Regions from separate parts of the Homo sapiens genome. Here regions 2, 3 and 4 are each linked to region 1. The links are contacts of gene promoters, found by promoter capture Hi-C in human tissues and cell types (Jung and others, 2019). All regions are on one chromosome and are shown on one strand. The core of a region is centred on a gene start or on the middle of the fragment in contact, and the rest is flanking DNA. Distances in the headings are between cores, read along the strand shown.

The links. The method cuts DNA at HindIII sites, captures the fragments that hold promoters and counts their contacts. A contact is called where the count stands out against the background at its distance.
Region 2: a fragment that was not itself captured here is called in contact with the fragment with the promoter of MED8 in region 1 in 1 of the 25 tissues and cell types used here (spleen).
Region 3: a contact is called between a fragment that was not itself captured here and the fragment with the promoter of MED8 in region 1, in 1 of the 25 tissues and cell types used here (liver).
Region 4: a fragment that was not itself captured here is called in contact with the fragment with the promoter of MED8 in region 1 in 1 of the 25 tissues and cell types used here (dorsolateral prefrontal cortex).

What each region holds. Positions count from the first base shown.
Region 1 is chr1:43,387,291-43,393,232 of GRCh38, forward strand. It overlaps MED8 (mediator complex subunit 8), which reads right to left and starts at 2,510. Exons shown (of 7, transcript NM_201542.5): 1 at 2,469-2,510; 2 at 1,020-1,138; 3 at 213-357. The coding sequence starts at 2,474. SZT2 (SZT2 subunit of KICSTOR complex) reads left to right here and starts at 2,609. Exons shown (of 72, transcript NM_001365999.1): 1 at 2,609-2,705. The coding sequence starts at 2,679. RefSeq lists an enhancer at 1,020-1,159 and a silencer at 2,600-2,929. The HindIII fragment of the contact is 6,675 bases long and covers 1-5,942 here.
Region 2 is chr1:43,082,843-43,088,060 of GRCh38, forward strand. No RefSeq gene overlaps it. Among named protein-coding and RNA genes, the nearest start is that of CFAP144, 62 kb to the right of the region's middle. The HindIII fragment of the contact is 6,717 bases long and covers 229-5,218 here.
Region 3 is chr1:42,876,918-42,882,567 of GRCh38, forward strand. It overlaps LOC339539 (a long non-coding RNA gene), which reads left to right. Exons shown (of 4, transcript NR_104171.1): 3 at 3,437-3,516. Among named protein-coding and RNA genes, the nearest start is that of ZNF691, 33 kb to the left of the region's middle. The HindIII fragment of the contact is 7,806 bases long and covers 1-5,650 here.
Region 4 is chr1:42,935,611-42,941,368 of GRCh38, forward strand. The region is part of intron 2 of SLC2A1 (solute carrier family 2 member 1); the gene reads right to left. Among named protein-coding and RNA genes, the nearest start is that of SLC2A1, 20 kb to the right of the region's middle. RefSeq lists enhancers at 1,203-1,272, 5,197-5,705, 5,317-5,416, 5,497-5,646. The HindIII fragment of the contact is 5,642 bases long and covers 1-4,476 here.

The sequences.
Region 1 (5,942 bases), core at 1,260-3,759:
GATGTTGGAGAAGAAAGGTATCAGCCTTGGTGACATACCCCTCAGGTTATTACAGCACTATTTGGGAGTGGCTCTCCCGCCTTCAGAAGAACAAAAAGCAAGGCCTCCAAAATTATTTCTAGGCTCTCAGCTAATAACTTAATTTCCCTAAATACTAAAGAAGCCTAAAAAACCCCTTAATTTCCCAAGTTGTATTCTTTTTCTCCTCTTACCATGAGATCTTCATCTCGGTCTGGAGACAACACCAGAGGAATGATGACCTGGTTACGGAACAGCGGTGTTTTTTCATGCTTCAAGACCTTGTTCAGAGTGTTCAGCTGTCCAGAAAGCAAGGCAAAGCTGTCCAGGACAGATGGCCTGGTGGTGGTAACAAGGTGTAAGAATGTTGTACCCCTTCCCTGGGTGGTTCTTAGTAAAATAGTCCTAGTTCCTTCAGGCTAGGAACACTTGGATTCACCTCCAAAAGTCTCATAGCCCTATGACTAGCCTAAGTGGGAACAGACTAACAGGGATGACAGGGCTATGAAAGAGGGACATAGTTTCAGTTTATGAAACAGACGTAGAAAAAACCCAGTTCATTGTTTGAATGGGGTGAGGAACAGTGGCAAAATAGGAACCAGGGCTACACTGTTATAACTAAAACTTCAGAAACCGGGTAAAAGCCTCCTTTCCAGCCTGGAAATAAGATCCACACTTCAGAGTAGGTTGGCTCTAAAAGACTCAGCCACATCTGTGGCAAGAGATCCAGCACGAATAGAGCTGTAGTGGGAGGACCTCCTCACCAGAGAAGTCAAAGGGTAAGAATTGAAAGCTAGAAAGAACTTGGGTTAGGAAACTGAGCATTTCTCTACTTCCTTGCCATGGAATCCACTTGCTAAATGTTAGGAAACCCAGCTCTTTCCAAATCAAAAGATGTTTGCAAACTGATAAATGGTTACATCATTAGAAATGTCCTATTCATCAGGAGGCTAGGCCCCCCCACCCATAAGCCCTTCCTAGCTTGCCCTGGTAACTCTTACCAGGTCAGCCGGCCATACTCGTTCTCCAACTTGCAAATGAAACTCCCCAGAGAGTTCTTCAGATCAGCCACTTGACTCAGCAGTGCATCTAATGATGCCTCAAGCTGCTTCTCCTCTCTCTGCACCAATAGGAACAGGTTGGTCACCCAGATAAACGAGTATGACACATAGAAAGGAGGGCTGGAAAGCCAAGGAGATGGTGTGCAACACCAGTCAGGTAACACAGGATCTCATTGGCATAGGATAGCCAGGTTGTTTTCTATCTTTGGTATTTGGGTTATAGACAGCATCAACCCTGAGACCTTCCAACCTGTTTGCCTGACCCCAAGTCCTTCCACCAACTGATTCCTTTTCCCCATCACCTCCTAATCTATGCCTGGTTTTTCTCTGTGTTAGGTACACCCTACACTCCCTCACTGAGACATTTTCGACAGACCTAATGCCAGGAGATCATTCTCTCATGTGCACCTCTGTAGCACATGCACTCCAGCTTCCTCCATCCTAGCATCTGTGAGCCTGGCTGTCTTGTCAGTCTCTGGGAAATCTGCCTACTCATGAAGACTTCTCTGAACACCAGTCCTGCTCTCCCCTTTCCCTCCCCCAACCAACGACTCCAGCTTTCCATCTGCTCTCATCATTTTGTTTCAACCTTCTCCTTGCTGAATTAATATGCAATCATCTATCTCTGTGTCAATATTCCCGTGCCTCTTTCACAAGCTCAGTCAACCCATTAACATTTATTGAGACTACCAGCTGCAAGAAACTAAGTGACAAATGAAAAACAAAAACCACACATGCTTCTAAGCACTGGACAAACAAATTAAAATGCTGGGGGTCTGCAAAGCATTTCCTTCCCATCGGTGGTCTCCTGTTTTACTCCATTTCTTCACCCTTAACAACTATAGGGCACAGGCTGGGAAGAGGGATGCAAAACTGTCTTGCAAACCTGCCTGACAGAAACTTGATCCCGGGTTCCACCATGGCCTCTGATTATAAGCTGCTTAGCTTTCAGCCATCGCGGCCCACAATTCCCTCACTGCTTGGGCTTCTTTCCAATTAGATCCCCTGCTATATCGGCAACCAACAGCCTCCATCCAGCAGCTTAGGACAGGGCCTGAGCCAACCCACCACCTTCTTGAGCCGTCTTCCTTGGACTGCATCTCAGCCTCCCCGTATTACAACCTAATCCTTTCCCACGCCAAGCAAACAGGTGCTGCCTCCTCCCTCCGGATTTAGCCCGACTGTCTCCTGTCAGGCAAGCTCCACCCCCACCTCTAATCGCCGCCGCTCCCGCTCCAATTAGCCTCGCCCCCCAGCCCACATTCCCTTATCAGCCGTGGGTTCTGCCCTCTCTTCTCAGTCCCAACTCTTCATTCTCCTTAGCCAGCCCACTCTCGGTCCCTGTACCCGAAGCTTGCCAGCCGCTAGTACGCCCAACGCAACTCTCACCTGCATTGCGGCGGCCGAGGCGGCTGCCACGATTTCACTTCCGGTTTTCCAGTCAGCAAACGCCTACGAGAAGGCTTCGTCCACCAATCAGAAAACTGGAACTCGGCCCTCCCACCAACTTCCGGTTCCTGCTGGGTGCCGAGGTAGCGAGGTCAGGGGTCAAGAGTGGAACACCCTCACTGGCCCGGGCCGGCGCGGGAGGGCTGTGTGATGGCCTCGGAGCGCCCGGAGCCGGAGGTGAGGGGCGGGCGGGCGCAGCACTGGGCCCCGAGATCCGAGGGGGAGGGTCCGGCGGGCAGGCGTGGCGTTGGCCTCCTCTAGGTCTGGGGGTGGCCGGGCTGCGTAGCCTCGGCAGGGACCAGCCCAGCCCGGAAGGCCCGACTATGGTACCCCTGCGGACTGTGTATGGGACGCGGTCCGCAGTTTCCTCGGGGAGCTAAAGGAGTAACTGTTCGCTTTGTTTTGTTTACTGACATGTCACCCGCGTCGTCGTCTCTAAGACTTATAGCGGTGTTAACAAAACTTGTATTTTGACTTTCTGTTGCAGTTTCAATGGGCAACACGGCAGTAGATTTACTTTGCTGGTTTTTGCATTTCTTTAGGCATTGGAATACCATAAACAGCATGAATTTATTTAGTTCTAGGGCTCATGCTTTTAGAAAAGCAGCTTTAATTTCATGAAAAAAACATTTGAGTCGGACTGAGACCTCGTTCCAATATTGGCGCTGTCATGTAGCTAATCTGTGCAACCTCAGGCGAGTCTTCCCGGATCCTGTTTCCTTCTTTATAAAATATCTGTCTTATAGTGTGTTGTGAGAATCACATGTAATAAACCAGAAAGGTGATATGATATATTCGTTAAATGCTAAGGAACATGCAAGGAACCTTATATATGTTGTGTCATTCAGACTTGTGCAAGGAAGGTGGCATTCTCACAGAGGAGAAAACTGAAAAATGAGAAAGATTTAGTACCTTACTCAAATGCCACTCATCCAGGAACTAGCAGTTTGGAGTTAGAAGATCTGAGCTTAAAATCTCAGATTCGGATAAAACACCACCACCAGGAAAGGTGCCAACATATCAGTAGGTGGGAAGGGTGAGAGATGTGTATAATGATAGAAATAGTATTCATTACTGCATACATACTGCATGCTCAGTACCATTCTAAGCTCTTTACCAATATCAGTTAATCCTCAGCCCTATGAAGTGGACACTGTATCATCTCCTTTTTTTAGTTTAGGAACTGAGGCACAGAGATATTAAGAGTAACAAAGTAAGCCGGGCGCAGTGGCTTACACCTGTAATCCCAACACTGGGAGGCCGAGGTGGGCAGATCACCTGAGGTGAGGAGTTCGAGACCAGCCTGACCAACATGGAGAAAGCCTGTCTGTACTGAAAATGCAAAATTAGCCAAGCATGGTGGCGCAGGCCTGTAATCTCAGCTACTCGGGAGGCTGAGGCAGGAGAATCGCTTGAACCCGGGAGGTGGAGGTTGCGATGAGCTGAGATCATGCCATTGCACTTCAGCCTGGGCAACAAGAGTGAAACTCCGTCTCAAAAAAAAAAAAAAGTAACAAAGTTACACAGCTATTAAGTATTAGAGTCAGGACTCCAAAACAGATGGCCAGGCTCCAGTCCTTGTGTTCTTAACCATATTGTTCATGGTATAAGTAATAAAGTAGCCACAGAATGGTAAATCTCCAGTTCACTGGGATTTGGTGTGGTAAGACCCAACATTGAATATGGTGGTAGGAAACTATGCCTTATTTAAAATAGTCATGTTCACAGAGGTGGTAGAATAGCTCATGCATCAGAAATATCAATCAAGATCAATCAGAAATATTAACACAAGAAAAACTATGAAACAGTTTAGAGGATGTTTCATTATAGATTAAAGTGAAAGGAGGTGGAGGGATGTTGTGGGGAAATGCAACATACCTTTTAGGCAGATAGTCTAGGACAACACCGTCCTGTAGAAATCTAAAGCAAGCCACATGTGTAATATTAAATTTTCTGATAGCCACATAAAAAAATGAAACAAGGCCGGGCGCGGTGGCTCACGCCTGTAATCCCAGCACTTTGGGAGGCCGAGGCGGGCGGATCACGAGGTCAGGAGATCGAGACCATCCTGGCTAAAACGGTGAAACCCTGTCTCTACTAAAAAAAATACAAAAAATTAGCTGGGCGTGGTGGCGGGCGCCTGTAGTCCCAGCTACTCGGGAGGCTGAGGCAGGAGAATGGCGTGAACCCGGGAGGCGGAGCTTGCAGTGAGCTGAGATTGTGCCACTGCAGTCCAGCCTGGGCGACAGAGCGAGACTCCGTCTCAAAAAAAAAAAAAAAAAAAAAAAAAAAAAAAAAAAAAAAAAAAATGAAACAAATGAAATAAAATGTAATTATATATTTAACCCAAAACTCCCAAAATTTTCAAAATGTAATAAAATACAAAACATCGTGAGATATTTAACATTTTTTTTGGTACCAAGTCTTTAAAATCTAGTGTTGTATTTTACACTGATAGCACATCCCATCTTGGTCTAGCAACATTGTAAGTGCTCAGTAGCCCCATATAGTAGTCTTTACCATATAGAGCAGTACAGATCTAAAGTAATTTCAAGTCAAGACACACAATCCTGGGAGTCTCAGCCAAAAGTTAAGCTTTTTTTTTTTTTTTTTTGAGACGAAGTCTCGCTCTGTCGCCCAGGCTGGAGTGCAGTGGTGCGATCTTGGCTCACTGCAACCTCCGCCTCCCGGGTTCACGCCATTCTCCTGCCTCAGCCTCCCAAGTAGCTGGGACTACAGGCGCCTGCTACCATGCCCTGCTAACTTTTTGTGTTTTTAGTAAAGACGGGGTTTCACCGTGTTAGCCAGATAGTCTCAATCTCCTGTCCTCGTGATCCGCCTGCCTCGGCTTCCCAAAGTGCTGGGATTACAGGCGTGAGCCACCGTGCCCAGCCTAAGTTAAGCATTTTTTAACTCCCTGATTTGCATTTCTGAAAATTTTATCAGAAGGTAAAGAGATTGAAGAGTTCTGCCCCTGGGTGTAATAAAGTTATTGACTTTTAGAGGCTGTTAGGATCCCAAGAGAGAAAGATTGGGTATAGTCAGATTTAGGAAATCATTCATTCATCACACACTTGAAATATTTTACGAGTGCTGGTAGGAGTCAGAATTGTGCTAAGTATCAGGGTGGATACAGAGCCGTGTAAGACAGACATGCTCTCTATCTTTATGGAGTAAACAAGGATTGAATTAGGATAATAAGTGCTGTAAAGGAGTGAATTAGGGTGTTTAACAGTGGTTCTCAACCTACCTTGTTAAGAAATGGGGAGGCAAGGGGTTGTGAATAGGAAGACTCAGAAGAATGACATTTAAGCTGAAGCCTGAAGAATAGGTAGAAGTTTTCTAAAAGAAGAGGCAGAGAGCATTGCAGGCAAAGGGAATAGTGAAGATCTTCAGGTGAGAAGGAGCCCAGTG
Region 2 (5,218 bases), core at 2,337-4,836, 300 kb before region 1:
TTCTCTCTCTTTTGTCTCCGTCTTCCACTTATAAGGACTCTTGTGATTACATTAGGCGCTCCCTCTGGATAATCCAGGATTATCCCCATCTCACAATCAGCTGACTGGCAACTCCCATTCCATCTGCAATCCTATTGCCCGTTTGCCGTGTAATCTAACATATTCATGGGTTCTGAAGATCAGGACGTGGACATCTGCTCACCACAATGAGCCACTTTATTTTTAGAATGTTGTTTAATTTTGGCTTGTCTGATGCTTCCTAGTGATTAGATTCAGGTTATGCACTTTTGGAAGAAATATCACAGATTTTTTTAGTCAATTGATCTTATATCTGGACACTTTGCTTAACTCTTGTATGGGTTTTAGTTTCTTGATTATTTTGGATTTTCTGTGTATTCTCATATCATCTGTGAATAGTAATAATATATTTTTCCTTCCCATTTTTACACTTACTATTTTTCTCATTGTTTTGACCAGGACTTCTAGCATCATGTTAAACACTTAACTGGGATACCAGGCATGTTTTTCCTTGTTCTTGATCTTACTGGAATGGATCTAAAATTCTATGCTAAGTCTGTATAATGTGCTATAGGGTTTTATCAAATTAAGAAAAATCCCTTCTATTCTAACTTTGTGAAATATTTTTTCATTAAAAGAAGTTGAACTTTGTAGGAGTTGTCCCTTGCCCTTTGAAGCACATGTGTCTTACCAAGGCATTCAGAGTTCTGGCCACATTTTACTCACTAGGTCCAACTAACATGACATCATCAAAGTGGTCTGTGGGGTGGTCAAACAGTTCAAGATTCTTTGGATTCTATTATAACAGGGAGAAGAAGAATTTACATAGCCCTGGAGAAATGTGAATTTTGTGAATGTAAACATGAAACCTGTGAATGCATAATGCTGTCCGTCCTATGTAAATGCAAACTCCTATGGATCCTCCTAAACAAAACAAAATATCCAAACACCTTTAGTCCTTCCTTACCAAAAAGCTCATCTTTCATACCTCATAACTTTACTTACCAAAAACATGTCTTACTTTCCTCACATATGGAGTTATTCTCCTTTTCCTTTTTAATTTTAATTGCCATATATTGATTAGTATTTTTACAAACTCTTAGAAACCTTAATTTTCAATAAAAACTAGCAAGCATTGTAAACTGTCCTATCATTTTATAATTTCTAGAAACAGGTGCTTCCTCATAGAACAATTTTTTCATGTTTGCTAACAGACCCAAATATATTTAGTCTTTTTATAAAATTTTAAAAGCCAAAAATAAAATTAAACTTGTGTTCAGTAATTTATGTTTTAGTATTTTATGTTAATTGGAAATAACATAGTTATTCAATGAATAGCTATCATTTAATTTAACCTAGCAAAACTCTAAGGGTACAGTTACTAAAGAGATTTAGAAAACTTTTTTTTTTTTTTTGAGACGGCGTCTTGCTTTGTCGCCTAGGCTGGAATGCAGTGACGCGATCTGGGCTCACTGCAAGCTCCACCTCCGGGGTTCATGCCATTCTCCTGCCTCAGCCTCCTGAGTAGCTAGGACCACAGGCGCCCGCCACCACGCCCAGCTAATTTTTTTTTTTTTTGTATTTTTAGTAGAGACGGGGTTTCACTGTGTTAGCCAGGATGGTCTCGATCTCCTGACCTCGTGATCCGCCCTCCTCGGCCTCCCAAAGTGCTGCGATTGCAGGCATGAACCACTGCGCCCAGCCTTAGGAAACAGTTTTTAAGCAGACATATTATAAAACATAATTGTTGTTAAAAAGTTCATTTATAAACTTTATCCAAGTTATAGCTATTTAGATCACTTTTTTTTTAACAATTATGCCTAGAATACTCATGAAAATTAAATGAGACATTAGAGACAAAGTTAGCCATCTTTTTAGGTTATTTCCCCATTAACCATTTATACATCATGAGCATATCAGGCAGTCATTGCTGAAGCAGGAACCCTAAAGTAAAATACATGGGTATTTCATTGATAACCCAGAAGACACAGCTGTTTTCATTAAACCAAATGATATTAAGCTTGTCTTATTTGCCAAAGACTCATCTACGTCACGTGAACTTGACAAGCATGTTGGGTTAGTTCCCATATTTCTAGCAGTTTTAGGTATTGCTCATTTATTTCTAAGCCAATTCAAATAATGCTTTTTACAAATATTAGTAGAAAAGACCTTTAAGATATTTCATTTGCTCAATTTTTAAATAGCCAAAAATCATGCCCACGAGAAAGAAAGTAGACAGATGGGGCACAGCATACAGTTAGCAGGGGTCCAAGAAGAGGGGCTTAGTTGACTGAGAAGTTTTCATGGGAGAAGCAGGATCCAATAGAGACAATAGAAAGCTCCCCCCTCTCCCCACCCCCACCAAAATTACAAGCTTCCAATTAAGCTGACTTATGTTGATAGAGCTCTTTAAAAGTCCTTTAAAAATATCTTATAATCAGGTTTCAGCTGGGACAAACAGCAAATATTCCTGGCAATATTAAATTCCTTTTTTTTCCCCGTGAGTATATGGTTCCATTTCAGCTTAGGAGAGAAGGCCAAACAAACAAAAAAGACCTTCCTATCATGCTGCAAATATACAAATAATTCAAACTAATTTTTGCAAGTGTTTCTTTCCTAAGCTAAATAAATTTACTGAAAAAAGAATTTATGGCAGGTTTAAAGGATTTGAACTGTCAGGCCTCTGAGCCCAAGCCAAGCCATCGCATCCCCTGTGACTTGCACGTATACGCCCAGGTGGCCTGAAGTAACTGAAGAATCACGAAAGAAGTGAAAATGCCCGGCCCTGCCTTAACTGATGACATTGTCTTGTGAAATTCCTTCTCCTGGCTCATCCTGGCTCAAAAGCTCCCCCACTGAGTACCTTGTGACCCCCACTCCTGCCCGCCAGAAAACAACTCCCCTTTTTCCTTTACCTACCTAAATCCTATAAAACGACCCCACCCCATCTCCCTTCACTGACTCTCTTTTCAGACTCAGCCTGCCTGCACCCAGGTGAAATAAACAGCCATGTTGCTCACACAAAGCCTCTTTGGTGGTCTCTTCACACAGACGCGCATGAAATTTGGTGCCGTGACTCGGATCGGGGGACCTCCCTTAGGAGATCAATCCCCTGTCCTCCTGTTCTTTGCTCTGTGAGAAAGATCCACCTACAACCTCAGGTCCTCAGACCAACCAGCCCAAGAAACATCTCACCAATTTCAAATCCGGTAAGTGGCCTCTTTTTACTCTCTTCTCCAACCTCCCTCACTATCCCTCAACCTCTTTCTCCTTTCAATCTTGGCGCCACACTTCAATCTCTCCCTTCTTTTAATTTCAATTCCTTTCATTTTCTGGTAGAGACAAAGGAGACACGTTTTATCCGTGGACCCAAAACTCCAGCGCCGGTCGCGGACTGGGAAGGCAGCCTTCCCCTGGTGTTTAATCATTGCAGGGACACCTCTCTGATTATTCATCCATGCTTCAGAGGTGTCAGACCACGCAGGGATGCCTGCCTTGGTCCTTCACCCTTAGCGGCAAGTCCCACTTTTCTGGGGGAGGGGCAAGTACCCCAACCCCTTCTGTGTCTCTACCCCTTCTCGGCCTTTCTGGGAGGCAAGAAACCCCCAACCCCTTCTCCTTTACCCTTAGTGGCAAGTCCCACTTTTCTAAGGGAGGGGCAAGTACCCCAACCTCGTATCTCTGCACCCCAATCCCTTATTTCCACACCCCAACCTCTTATCTCTGCACCCTGATCCTTTATTTCCGTGCCCCGACCTCTTATCTCTGCACCCCAACCCCTTATTTCTGCGCCCCGACCCCTTTCCCCCTTTTCTGGAGGGTAAGAACCCCTGAACCACTTCCCTCCGTGTCTCTACTCTCCCTTTTCTTTAAACTTGCCTATAGGCAACCTTCCACCCTCCATTCCTCCTTCTTCTCCCTTAGCCTGTGTTCTTAAGAACATAAAACCTCTTCAACTCTCGCCTGACCTAAAACCTAAATGCCTTATTTTCTTCTACAATGCCACTTGACCCCAATACAAACTCGACAGCGGTTCCAAATAGCCAGAAAATGGCACTTTCAATTTTTTCCATCCTACAAGATCTAAATAATTCTTGTCATAAAATAGGCAAACGGTCTGAGGTGCCTGATGTCCAGGCATTCTTTTATACATTGTTCCCTCCCTAGTCTCTGTTCCCAATGTGACTCGTCCCAGATCCTCCTTCTTTCCCTCCCGCCTGTCCCCTCAGTCCCAACCCCAAGCGTCGCTAAGTCTTTCTAATCTTCCTTTTCTACAGACCCATCTGACCTCTCCCCTCCTTGCCAGGCCGAGCCAGGTCCCAATTCTTCCTCAGCCTCTGCTCCCCACCCTATAATCCTTTTATCACCTCCCCTCCTCACACCTGGTCCAGCTTACAGTTTCGTTCTGCGACTAGCCTTCCCCCACCTGCCCAGCAATTTCCTCTTAAAAAGGTGGCTGAAGCTAAAGGCATAGTCAAGGTTAATGCTCCTTTTTCTTTATCAGACCTCTCCCAAATCAGTGAGCATTTAGGCTCTTTCATCAAATATGAAAAACCCAGCCCAGTTCGTGGCTCATTCGGCAGCAACCCTGAGACGCTTTACAGCCCTAGACCCTAAAAAGTCAAAAGGCTGTCTTATTCTCAATATACATTTTATTACCCAATCTGCCCCCGACATTAAATAAAACTCCAAAAATTAAATTCCGGCCCTCAAACCCCACAACAGGACTTAATTAACCTCACCTTCAAGGTGTACAATAACAGAGTAGAGGCAGCCAAGTAGCAACATATTTCTGAGTTGCAATTCTTTGCCTCCACAGTGAGACAAACCCCAGCCACATCTCTAGCACACAAGAACTCCAAACGCCTGAACCGCAGCTGCCAAGGGTTCCTCCAGAATCTCCTCTCCCAGGAGCTTGCTACAAGTGCCGGAAATCTGGCCACTAGGCCAGGGAATGCCCACAGCCTGGGATTCCTCCTAAGCCGTGTCCCATCTGTGCAGGACCCCACTGGAAATCGGACTGTTCAACTCACCTGGCAGCCACTCCCAGAGCCCCTGGAACTCTGGCCCAAGGCTCTCTGACTGACTCCTTCCCAGATCTTCTTGGCTTAGCATCTGAAGACTGACACTGCCCGATTGCCTCAGAAGCCCACAGGACCATCACAGACACTCTAGGTAACTCTCACAGTAGAGAGTAAAT
Region 3 (5,650 bases), core at 1,361-3,860, 510 kb before region 1:
GTATTATGAAATTTTTGTAGCGTTTTTCAGCTCTATCAGATTAAGTGTGCTTTTTTCTTTAAATGCCCACTTTATTTTTCAGCTCCTGTATCATTTTATTGTGTTCCTTAGATTCTTTGGATTGGGTTCAACTTTCTCTTGAATCCCGATGATCTTTGTTCCTATTTATATTCTAAATTCTATGTTTGTCATTTCACCCATTTCAGCCTGCTTAAGAACCATTGCTGAGGAACTAGTGTGGTCATTTGGAGGTAAGAAGACACTCTTACTAGGGTTTTTGTGCTGGTTCTTTCTCATCTATGTGGGCTGATGCTCCTTTAATATTTGAATGTGCTGTCCTTTTGATGGGGTGTTTTGCTTTTATATTCTTTGATGCCCTTGGGGGTTTGATAATGGCATAATGTGGGTTCAGTTGACGGGCTTTGTTTCTAGAAGATTTCAAGAGGCCAAGGCAGAGCTCAACACTCCTGGGCTTTGTACTCTAACTCTGGGGGCGTGGTACTGAGCCCCCAGCTTTGTTGTCTGGTCCCCCAAGGTTAGGAACTTGTTACACTGGAGAGGCTGAGGTATTCCCAGACTGCTGGCCACACAACATTCCAGTGGAGAGTGCCAGCCAAAGTACTTCACAGGGGCAGTGGCAGCAGGATCTGTGCTCACTTGCACATGCTAGCAGCTGCAGAGGCACAGTGGGGTGCACGCACATTAGCTGGGATGGGGCACTGGCAGGAGTGGAGCAGCAGGGTCTGTCATTACCAGCTTTCAAGAAAATAAGGAAAATTCCTAGAGGTAAAAAACAAACAGAAAGCTGAAAACCAAGTGATAAGTGGGTGCTGACACTTTGGATGTTCTGAGCATGTTTACTGGTCTTGTAAGTCAGGGCTGTGAGTCTAATGACAAGACAATGACAAGAAAATGGGGACTTGGATTTATGCAGGGTGAAGATTTGTAACTGAGATCTCTGGACAAAGATGATACCCTCAATTACCTACACCTTAGTGAAAAAGTGATCTAGGAGAAAAAGAAAACCAAAACACTTTGCTTGCTTTTGTGGGCTTGTGTTGAATGGTATTGATCTGGTTTATATATTGAAATAATTAGAAGAAGATGTTTGCAGTAAGGCATTTAAAATTCTGTAATTATTCAGGTAAAGGGAAAAATATTAATTTTTGAGATTAAGCATTCCTGTGAAAATGGTAAGGAAGGCACTAAAGCAATAAATTGAATTCCAATTAGTAAAGGGGAAAACCTGGATTAATGAAAACAAATCAATCCCAAAGAAAAATAGGACAAATAGAAATATTTGTCTAAATAAATGTGAAATGGAATGAACTAACCAGTTAAAACACAAAAATTTTTCAGATTAGTTAAGAAAACCCCTGTGGCTTACTCCTGTAATCCCAGCACTTTGGGAGACTGGGGCAGGAGGATTTATTGAGGCCAGGAGTTCCAGGCCAACCTGGGCAACATCCCTGTAATCCGAGCTACTCAGGAAGATGAGGCAGGAGGATCTTTTTACAGGAGTTCGAGGCTGCAGTATGCTATAATCATGCCACTGCACTTCAGCCTGGGCAACAGAGTGAGACCCTGTTGCTAAAGAAAAAAAGGAGGAAAGAAAGAAAAAAAGAAACCCTCAAATCCTGTTATATGTTATTTATAAGAAATAAACCTAAAATGTAAGCACACAGAAAGGTTGAAAGTACAAGAATTTAAAAAATTATCCCAAGGAATTACCAATTAAAAGAAATTTAGTGTGTAGAAAATATAGACTTTAAAGAAAAAAGCATTATTAGGGATACAAATGGCCACATAATGAGGAGTTACAATTCACTAGTAATATATATTTCCAAAGTTATAAGCACCTCAAAAGTTATGTGTAGCCTTGTTTCTTTGAGTGGAAGCTCTAAGAATCAGTGTGTATTTTGCCACAGTGCTCTTTTTTCCACTGCTATGGCAACCAGGATTGTTCTAGGTAGTACCTTCTCCATCAGCCCAGGTCCCAGACTGAGGACGAGGACAATACTCCTAGCCAATTCATGATGGACATGTGTCATGAGCAAGAAATAAATCTTTGGCTGGGTGTGGTGGCTCACGCCTGTAATCCCAGCACTTTGGGAGGCCGAGGCGGGTGGATCACGAGGTCAGGAGATCGAGACTATCCTAGCTAACATGGTGAAACCCCATCTCTACTAAAAATACAAAAAATTAGCTGGGCATGGTTGCGGGCACCTGTAGTCCCAGCTACTCGGGAGGCTGAGGCAGGAGAATGGCGTGAATCCGGGAGGCAGAGCTTGCAGTGAGCCAAGATCACACCACTGCACTCCAGCCTGGGTGAAAGAGTGAAATTCCATCTCAAAAAAAAAAAAAAAGAAAGAAAGAAATCTTTTATGGGTTCTTCTTTTTTGACAGCTTTATTGAGGCACAGCTGACACAATTTGATAAGTTTTGACATAGGTTTGCACCTATAAAGCCATCACCACATCAAGATAATGAACACATCTATCACACCTAAAAGTTTCTTCATGCCCTTTGTGATCCCTTTCCCTCATCCCTCTTCTCTGTCCATTGGCTTTCAGGTGAATGTTGAATCTGCTTTTGTCACCGTAGATTAGCTTACATTTTCTAGAATTTTGTATAAATGGGATCATGCAGTATGTATTCTTGTTTTGGTTGGTCTGCTTTCTTTCACTCAGCATAATTATTTTGAGATTCATGCATTATGTAGTGTATATAAATATTTATCCATTTTTATTGTTGAATTTTATTTCATTGGATAGCCATACATTTATATGTTTATCCATTCACCTCTTGATGGACATTTTGAGTGTGTCCAGTTTGGGGTTATTACAAATAAAGCTGCTATGAACATTTCTGTAGAATTCTTTGTATAGCCAAATTGTCACAGGATCCTTAGGGTGTCACTTTTCCAGCTGGAAGCCTCTGTGGCCAGTGGCACCTTTGCCCGAGTTGTGCTTGGGTCTACTAGGCTCATTCTGCCCACTCAACCTCACAGGCTGTGCTCAGCTTGTTCTACTGGCCCGGATCCCATGCCTGCCAAGGGTGAGCCAGGTGCAGAGTGATGAGAGGTGCATGAGAGAGGTGCATGGGGTCCAGCCACTGCACACAGCCAGGCACACCAGCTGCTGTGGGTGGGCAGCTCCAGGCGCTGGCCCAGGTGCTGGCTCCATGTGAGGCTGTGGCTGGACCAGGCATAGTGCATGTGGCTTCCACTGTGGGCTCCAGGGAATGTGGTGCCTCCAGGAAGCTTGGAGATACCAGGAACCACAGAGCCCCAAAGAGGGTGTCACAGCCCTGGCTCAGAGAGCCCTTAGGTTTGGACTCCCTGAAGGACTGCAGCTCTTCTCTCCTTCTCATCACTTGCAATGTGGCAAGCCAGTGGGAGGGGGTGGGATGTGTTTCAGCCCTGTTTGTGTTACAGCTCTTTCAGCCCTACCATTTGGCGGGTCCCGAGTTCTTGTCCTGCATCCAGGAAGAATGAGGTATGCAGACAACTGGAAGGTAAGCAAGGCGAAAAGGTGCTTTATTGACCAACAGTACAGCTCTCAGGAGACCCAATGTAGGTAGCTCCTTTCCACAGGCAGTTCATCCTGTCAAGTGCAGCCCTCAGAAGAGAGGAGACCCAGAGTGGGTAGCTCCTATCTGCAGGCAGGTTGTCCCAACATCTGTGTGACTCTGAGTCTGGCTGAGTCTGGGTTTTTTATGGGCTTCAGAAGGGAGGAAGTGTGTGCTTATTGATCCATGGGTGGCCACACGTGGGCCCAGAAAAAGCACCATAAGTTCTCATTCCAGGCTGCAGACTCCATCCAGAACTGACAGCCGAGTTCCCATGCTCCAGGACGTTTCTGGCATGAAGATGGGGCTTCACCGGGGACCTGCCCAGAATCCTGTCAGCCTCCTGCCACCATCAATCATGTCATCCACAGTGCCCAGGCTGTTTGTGCTGAAGGGTGCCTGCAGGCCCATGCCTAGATGCCCTCAGAACCCCCTCAATCTCAAAGTCTGGAGGTGGCCGAGGCGGCAGGGGGCTGGTGTGTCAACGCCACCCTGAGTGCACTCCCACACCCTGCTGGGTTGTGACAGTGCCCAGGCTTGGCCTCAACTTTGTTCCAAAATCAGAGCATGCACTGGATACAGGGATAGGCCAGGCAAGGGGAGCAGGTACTTCCAAGCCTGCAGGGGCAGGGGGGCTTCCTGGGCCCCCGAGAGTGCAAGGATGCCTGGATCCATAACCACAGCTGGGTGGCTGCAGCTGTGCCTGGGATAGCAGGTCTCCCACCCTGCCAACTTGGAAAAAGGTGGGGCTCCTACCTGTTTCCAGCTCCCAGCTCTTTGGTGCATGCAGTTCCAGCTGGGTCTCCTCCATTGCAAAGCCAGCAACTTTGCAGTGGCCACTCTAGATGGGCTGCAGCTGCCATCAATATGCTTTCATTTCTCTTGGGTAAATAAATAACTAGAAATGGCTGGCTCAAGTGGTAGGTATATGCTTACCTTTTTAAAAAACTGCCAAACTGTTTTCCAAAGTATACCGTTGTGATTTTCATGTTTGTTTCCCTAGTGGCCAATGATGTTGAAAATATTTTTATGTGCTTATTTGCATCCATATATCTTATTTGGTGAAGTGTCTGTTTACATATTTTTTTCCATTTTTTATTGGGTTGTTTTCTTTTTCAATTCAAAATTTCTGGTCTTTGAAAGATACTTTAAACAGAATAGAAAGACAATTGGGTATGTGTGAATATAAATAGTAGCACAGGGAGATCTTTATAATAATATAATTGTTCTGTATCTTGATTGTTGTGGTGGTTACACAAATATACACATGTGATAAAATGATATAGAACTATACACATACATTGTATCCATGTGTTATTCCTGGTTTTGATAGTGTACCTTAATTATGTCAGATACAACCATTGGGGGAAACTGATTGAAGGGTATACAGGGACTCTCTACTATCTTTGCAACTACCTCTAAATCTAAAATTATTTCAAAATTAAAAATTTTAAAATAGACAATTCACAGACCTTCTAAAGTAAATTGTATGTGGATGATTGATTATAAGGGGAAAAATAAAATGGATCCCTATCTTACAACATACACAAAAGTCAATTCCTAGAGTATTTGAGACCTATATATAAACAGAAAAATTGTTATACAAGACAATATAGAAGATTATCTTTTTGACTACTGGATAGGAAAATATTTCTTAATTTGGTCAAAAATGGACAAACTAAAAGAAAGAATATCAATGAATTTGACTACATTAACATTAAACATTTCACATAAAAAAAGTGAAAAGGGCCGGGCACAGTGGCTCACGCCTGTAATCCCAGCACTTTGGGAGGCCGAGATGGGCAGATAACCTGAGGACAGCAGTTCGAGACCAGCCTGGATGACATGGTGAAACCCTGCCTCTACTAAAAATACAAAAATTAGCCGGGCATGGTGGCACATGCCTGTAATCCCACCTACTCGGGAGGCTGAGGCAGGAGAATCACTTGAACCTAGGAGGTGGAGGTTGCAGTGAGCTGAGATTATGCCATTGCACTCCAGCCTGGGCAACAGAGCAAGACTCTGACTCAGAAAAAAAAAAAGAAAGAAAGAAAGAAAAAAAGAGTGAAAAGATGAGCTA
Region 4 (5,758 bases), core at 406-2,905, 450 kb before region 1:
AAGGAGGAACCTGAAGGAACTACGGGCCTGCCTCAGGGAATAAAGCTAGTCTCCAGACCCTGCTCGGCTGCTCCTGGCAGAGGAACCCAGCACTCTGTAGCCCCAGAGGGCAGAGGTGCCAGGGCCAGACTCCAGCTCAGGGGAAGGAAGAGCTTTATAGACTTCAGGGTATGAGGCTGCCCACCTTACAGGTGGTGAGTTCCCTGTAAGTAGGGAGCATGCAAGTCAAAGTGCTCCAGAGCCGGACTGGGGTAAACATTTTATGTAAAAGGCTAGCTAGAATCCATTAGGTAGGGTCTGTGAGCCACATATGGCCTCTGTCACTCATTGTTCTTTTTTTCTCAACCTTGTAAAAATGTAAAAACCATTGTTAGCTCATGGGTTGCACAAAAACAGGCTGCTGGCTGGATGTGGCCCTCCTGCCAACCCTTGATCTAGGATTCTAGACCACTGCCAGGAGGGGTATGCGTTTTGGAACCTCTGGCTGGTCTCACCATCCTTCCCTCTAGACATTCCTTTACCCCAGGAGGACTAGGTCAGTTAGGTCATCCCCAGCAGGGATCCCTGGGCCAGGTTTAGGCTCGGTCTCAACTCTCCCTGTGCTCTACGGGATGCTATTGTGGGGAAGAAGGGGCTAAACTGCCAGCCAAGCTTTCAGCGCCAGTTACAAGGAGGAAAGGGCCAGCTTCTCCGGCTTAGCCTCTCAGCCTGGCCTTCACCCCTGTTCCTTGCCTGCCCCTGTCTTCCAGTTGGGGCTGGCCCCACACTGCCCTTCCCACAAGCTCTCAGCCCAGGGCCTTCATCTCCACAGCAACTCTCAGCCACACCCCAGGGTGAGCTGGGAGATTGGAGCCAGATGTTCCAGGTGGGGCTGGACAGATAACCCTGCCCACTGGGTCCCCTGGGGCCTCACTTTGGGGCCTGGGGGAAGAGGCCCAGGTTGGGGCTAGAGCTGGGCCCCAACCCCCCTGCAGAGGGCTGGACCACCCAGGCTGCTTCCCTGGAACAGCCCTGACATGGCTAGCCTCCAAACCAAGGCCAGGCCAGGCCAGGCCTCCCGGTAGACAGAGGAATCATCCCACTGCCGTGGCCACACCCGAAGCCCTTCTCAGCTCTTGCAATAAAGTGTCTCCTCTACCCCAACTATGACTCACAAGGCACACGCAGTGACTCCCTCATACGACCTAGACACCTCACACCTTTGCTTGGGCCTAATCACCTTTCAGAACATGCACAGATACTCCTCTGGAAAGCCTTCCTCCCGAGAACCACCCCTCCCACTCCACTGCAACTGGTTCTCAAACAGAGACGGCTTTGGTACCCCATAGGACATCTGCCAATGCCCAGAGACATTTTTGGTTGCCACACTGGCTACTGGTATCTAGAGGGCAGAAGCCAAGGATGCTGATAAACATCCTCCAATGCATGGGACAGGCCTCTACAACACCAGCAGAAACATCACAGTGCCAAGCTGAGAAACCCTGCTCTAAGGGCGAAGCACCCTCTCCCTCTTCCTTCCCTGCTCCCACTGTGCTTGCTCGCATTTCCATCATCGCCTTTAGAAGACTAACTGTAAGGTACCGTGTGCTCCCTGTACAGTAAACCTCAGCACGGAGATGGTCTGTCTGATGCATCCATGTTGCTGGTGCCCAGCACGGTGGTGGAGGTGCAGAGTTGACACTAAATGACCAACAAGCCATGAATCTAACTGAAGGGCTTGAGGGGTGATGTGATATGACAGGGTGTGATGGTGTAAGAGATTGTGCAACTGTGTGTGGGAAACCTGAGATGTTGGTACATGACTGAGCTTGACTCAGCTCCAAAGTGAGACCACACACTGCCAGCTAGGTGGCAGTTGTAGGTGAGTGAAAGGGTGTTTAGGTGCCCATCTGGGACTGTGTCCATCTTCCACAATGGTCAAGGGCACAGACTAGGGCCAGACTCCCCGGAGTTACATTGCAGCCTTGCCACTTACTAGCTGTGTGTCCTTGCTTTAATTGCTTAACATTCCTGTGCCCCAGTTTCTTATAGAGCAGGGAAAATTATGGTGTCTGCCTAATGGGGTTATTTTGAAGAACAACTGAATTACTATTTCTAGAGTATGTATAACAATGCCTGGGCAAGCTATAAGTAAGCAGTAAGGGTTTATGGTAGTGGTGACGGGTGAAGGGGAGAGAGGACTAGAACTCTTTGGATATAGGAGAGAGAAGGAGAGGCTGCCTAGAGCACGAAGCCCAGTTCAGCCTGACGGGACACAGGGCTTGGGTTGGGAGGCGGGTGTTGCCTCCAGCTCTTTCACTCACCAAGCTGGGTCATCCTGGGCAGACCTCACCTCCTCTGCAGACCAGGTTCCTCCTTTGTCAAACAAGGAGTGTTGTTTGTCAAACAACTGAGGCCTTTCTGGCCCAAACTCTGGATTCTGAGGATGCCTTATTCTCAGACATGCCTGACACTGTCCCTTGGGCCAGGACTTCATGGTTTCTCAGTGGCCGTCAGTCATCTCTACTGGCAGCTCAGTCATTTGGGGAGGGGAAAGGCAGTGCTCGGATGAGCCCAGTATGATGGTCAGGATTCCCTGGTTCATTTAGCTGCTCCCTCTGTGGCTGGGCTCACCTCTTCTGCTCTGTCCTCCTCCTCCAGGAGGGGATGCATGGCAGGAATGTCCTGTCACACTCACAGCAGGGCAGGGGCAGTGTGCAGAGCTGGGGAGGCACAAGGCCTGGAGCCCACCTCTAGCTCAGCCTCTCACTCTCCAGATACCTCATCTGGCTTCAGTTCCCTCATTTAGAAGAGGGGAAGATGTCAGCCCCGCCTGCCTTGTAGAGTTGCTGTGAGGTGGTAATTTATGGGGTGGTGCTTTGTAAACATATAAGGTAGTATGATTAATTAACCACTTCCAGGAGGAAGCCCTTTGGGGCCTGTTTTATGGAAGAGAACAAGCTTCTGGCATCCTCACCACTTGTGGGGCAAAGTCTCTTCTCAAGAGTAGGCAAACTGTGGCCAACCCAATGCTGTTTCCTAAGAGAGGTTCTTCTAAACAGACAAGGGAAGTCAGTGTGCCCACTGCAGGCAGTTAGCAATTCCGCATCAGCAGAACATTTCACACCCCTGCACCTCTGCAGAAGCCCCTCTCACTGCCCAGACACCTGCCCCTCCTGCCCTATGAGGTCAACTAACCCTTCAAGGTCGAGCATGGCTGCCAAGTCCTTCGTGAAGCCCTTTTTTTAATCTCCCCTGTCACCCCAGCCCCAGCATTAGTTGCCCCGTTTGCTCTCACAGCACCTTGAAGCCCTCTGTTAGTGACACTCTGGCTTTCTCCAAGGGGTCTCTCCCACTGCTGTGGAGACAGGGCCTGGCTCAGACTGTGTCTCAGGCAGCTCCCTGAGGGCCAGCATGTGCCTGCTGTGTTCACAGCTATACTTCTCTCTCCTTACTGTCTAGGACCGCATCTGGCACAGCGTGGATGCTCAGGAAGTCCTGGCTGAATGAAAGGGTTGGCCAGATGGAATCTCTGTGTCGCCCTAGGGCAGGCCTTCAGCCTACGCGGGCACAGGAGTCTCTCTGCCCTGTTACTACACATGGGCTCTGAGCCTCACTTTCATTTCTTCTTCTTGGGTCCTTCTGTCCTCTCTTCACATGTTACATGTATCACTTCTAATCTGGCTCCTGGTTGGAAAAACTACAGCCAGCCTTGTGAGAAGTGTTTGTAAAGTACAAAAGTCAACAGACCAAGTGTCTGGGTGCTTGCCCAAGAAACACCGCTAGATTTCAGCGTTCTCAGTTCTGGCCACTCACATCTCCAGCTTCGGTCTGCTGGGGCTGGTTCCTGAAGTGACCTTTGGACAGGTGACCATACATGGTCCTATGAATGCAGTTTACAGGCTCATCTGGGCCCTCTGTGCTGCTGACCAGCCCCGTGATGCCCTGGTCAGAGGTTCTGCCCATATTCCATGACAGTTATAACCTCTTGCCTATTTCTGATTAGATGGGAGGCCCCGGGGATCACAGAAGTTCATCTCAGATTTGTCTACATCTTCAGAAGTCTCTCAGTCCCTGGCTGGGCATGGTGGCTCATACCTGTAATCCCAGCACTTTGGGAGGCCAAGGCAGGTGGATCGCCTGAGGTCAGGAGTTTGAGACCAGCCTCACCAACCTGGTGAAACCCCATCTCTACTAAAAACACAAAAATTAGCTGGGCGTGGTGGTACACACCTGTACCAGTAGCCCAGCTACTTGGAAAGCTGAGGCACGAGAACCACTTGAACCCAGGAAGCGGAGGTTGCAGTGAGCCAAGATCATGCCACTGTACTCTGGCCTGGGCAGCAGAGCAAGACTCCGTCTCAAAAAAAAAAAAAAAAAAAAAGGTATCTCAGTCCCTCCTGGCCAAAGGCAGCCCCTCCCTTCTGCTCCGACACCACCCTCCCTCCTGGAAGACCTCCGCCCTCACTTCCTTATCTTCACCCTCTCCTGCTGATTCCTTCCAACATGTTTAAAAATAACCTTCATTAAAATAAATAAATAAATTCCTAGCCATACCATCATTCCAAACCTCCTCTTTTCTCCCTCTCCCACCAACTCTTTTGGAAGAGCCGTCTCCACCCTTTCTCATCTGCCTCTCACTCTTCACCCAATCGTAGTGAGGCTTCTATCCACGCTGTGCCACCCAGTCAGCCCGAGTGGCCACAAGGCCACCATCGCCTCTTCTGCATTCAGCAATGTGGAGAGGCTTGCCCAGTTCAACCCCTGGGGTACCCGATGGCCTTCCTCCACTCACTATCCACCAGTGTCTATTACTATGACAGGCACCGTTCTAGGCACTAAGGACACGGCCGTGGACAAACCAGACAAATACCCTGGCCCTTCGATGGCTTACATTATCCCTCTGTCTTGGGAGGGTATCCTCTCCTGGTTTTAGAGATACCAGCTCTTGTTCTTCTACTTAGGGTCTTTTTCTAGCAATGGGTTGTTCTCTGGGGCCTTGATCTTTTACTTTTAATTTTTATTTATTTAATTATAAAATTGAGATGAGGTCTTGATGTGTTGCTCAGGCTGGTCTTGAACTCCTGGGCTCAAGTGATCCACCCACCTCAGCCTCCCAAAGTGCTGGGATTACAGCGTGAGCCACATGCCCGGCCTTAATCTTCATTTCTCTTTTTATTCCACAGTCTCCCTAGAAGATCTTTCTCCACTGTGTGGATACCAGTGACTAATTCTCAACTTTTCTCCAGCCTGGGTCTAAGAAACAGACCCATACATACAGGTGCCTCCTGCACATCTCCAGCTGTGTCACCCCACGCCTCCATTCCTGCACATCCCACGGCCACCTCTCAGCTCCTGGCACACCTGCTCCTTCTTCAAACCACACATCACCCATGCCAGAAACCTAGAAACCATTTTTAAACCCTTCTCTGTTGCCCTCGCACGGAATTGATGACCAAATCCTGTCCATTCTTCCTCTGAGGGTTTGCTTTTATGTCACTAGTCCAACGGCAACTTTCTTGATGGTTTCCCGTCTCTAGTCTCACATTCTTAAGTCCGCCCCTCCATACCAGACGCCTGAGTCATTTCCCTACAATGCAAGTCTGATCACGTCTGCCCTGGGCAGTGGGTCCCTATTGTCCTCATCCTGAAGTCCATGCTCCCTAGCTGGGCCCCCGTGCTGGTGCCCATCCGCCCCTTCTGACTGTGCCGTGCCATACTCACAAGGCCCTTTGTGGTCTGGCTCTTGCCTACCTTACCTTGTTGACCTCCCCAACCT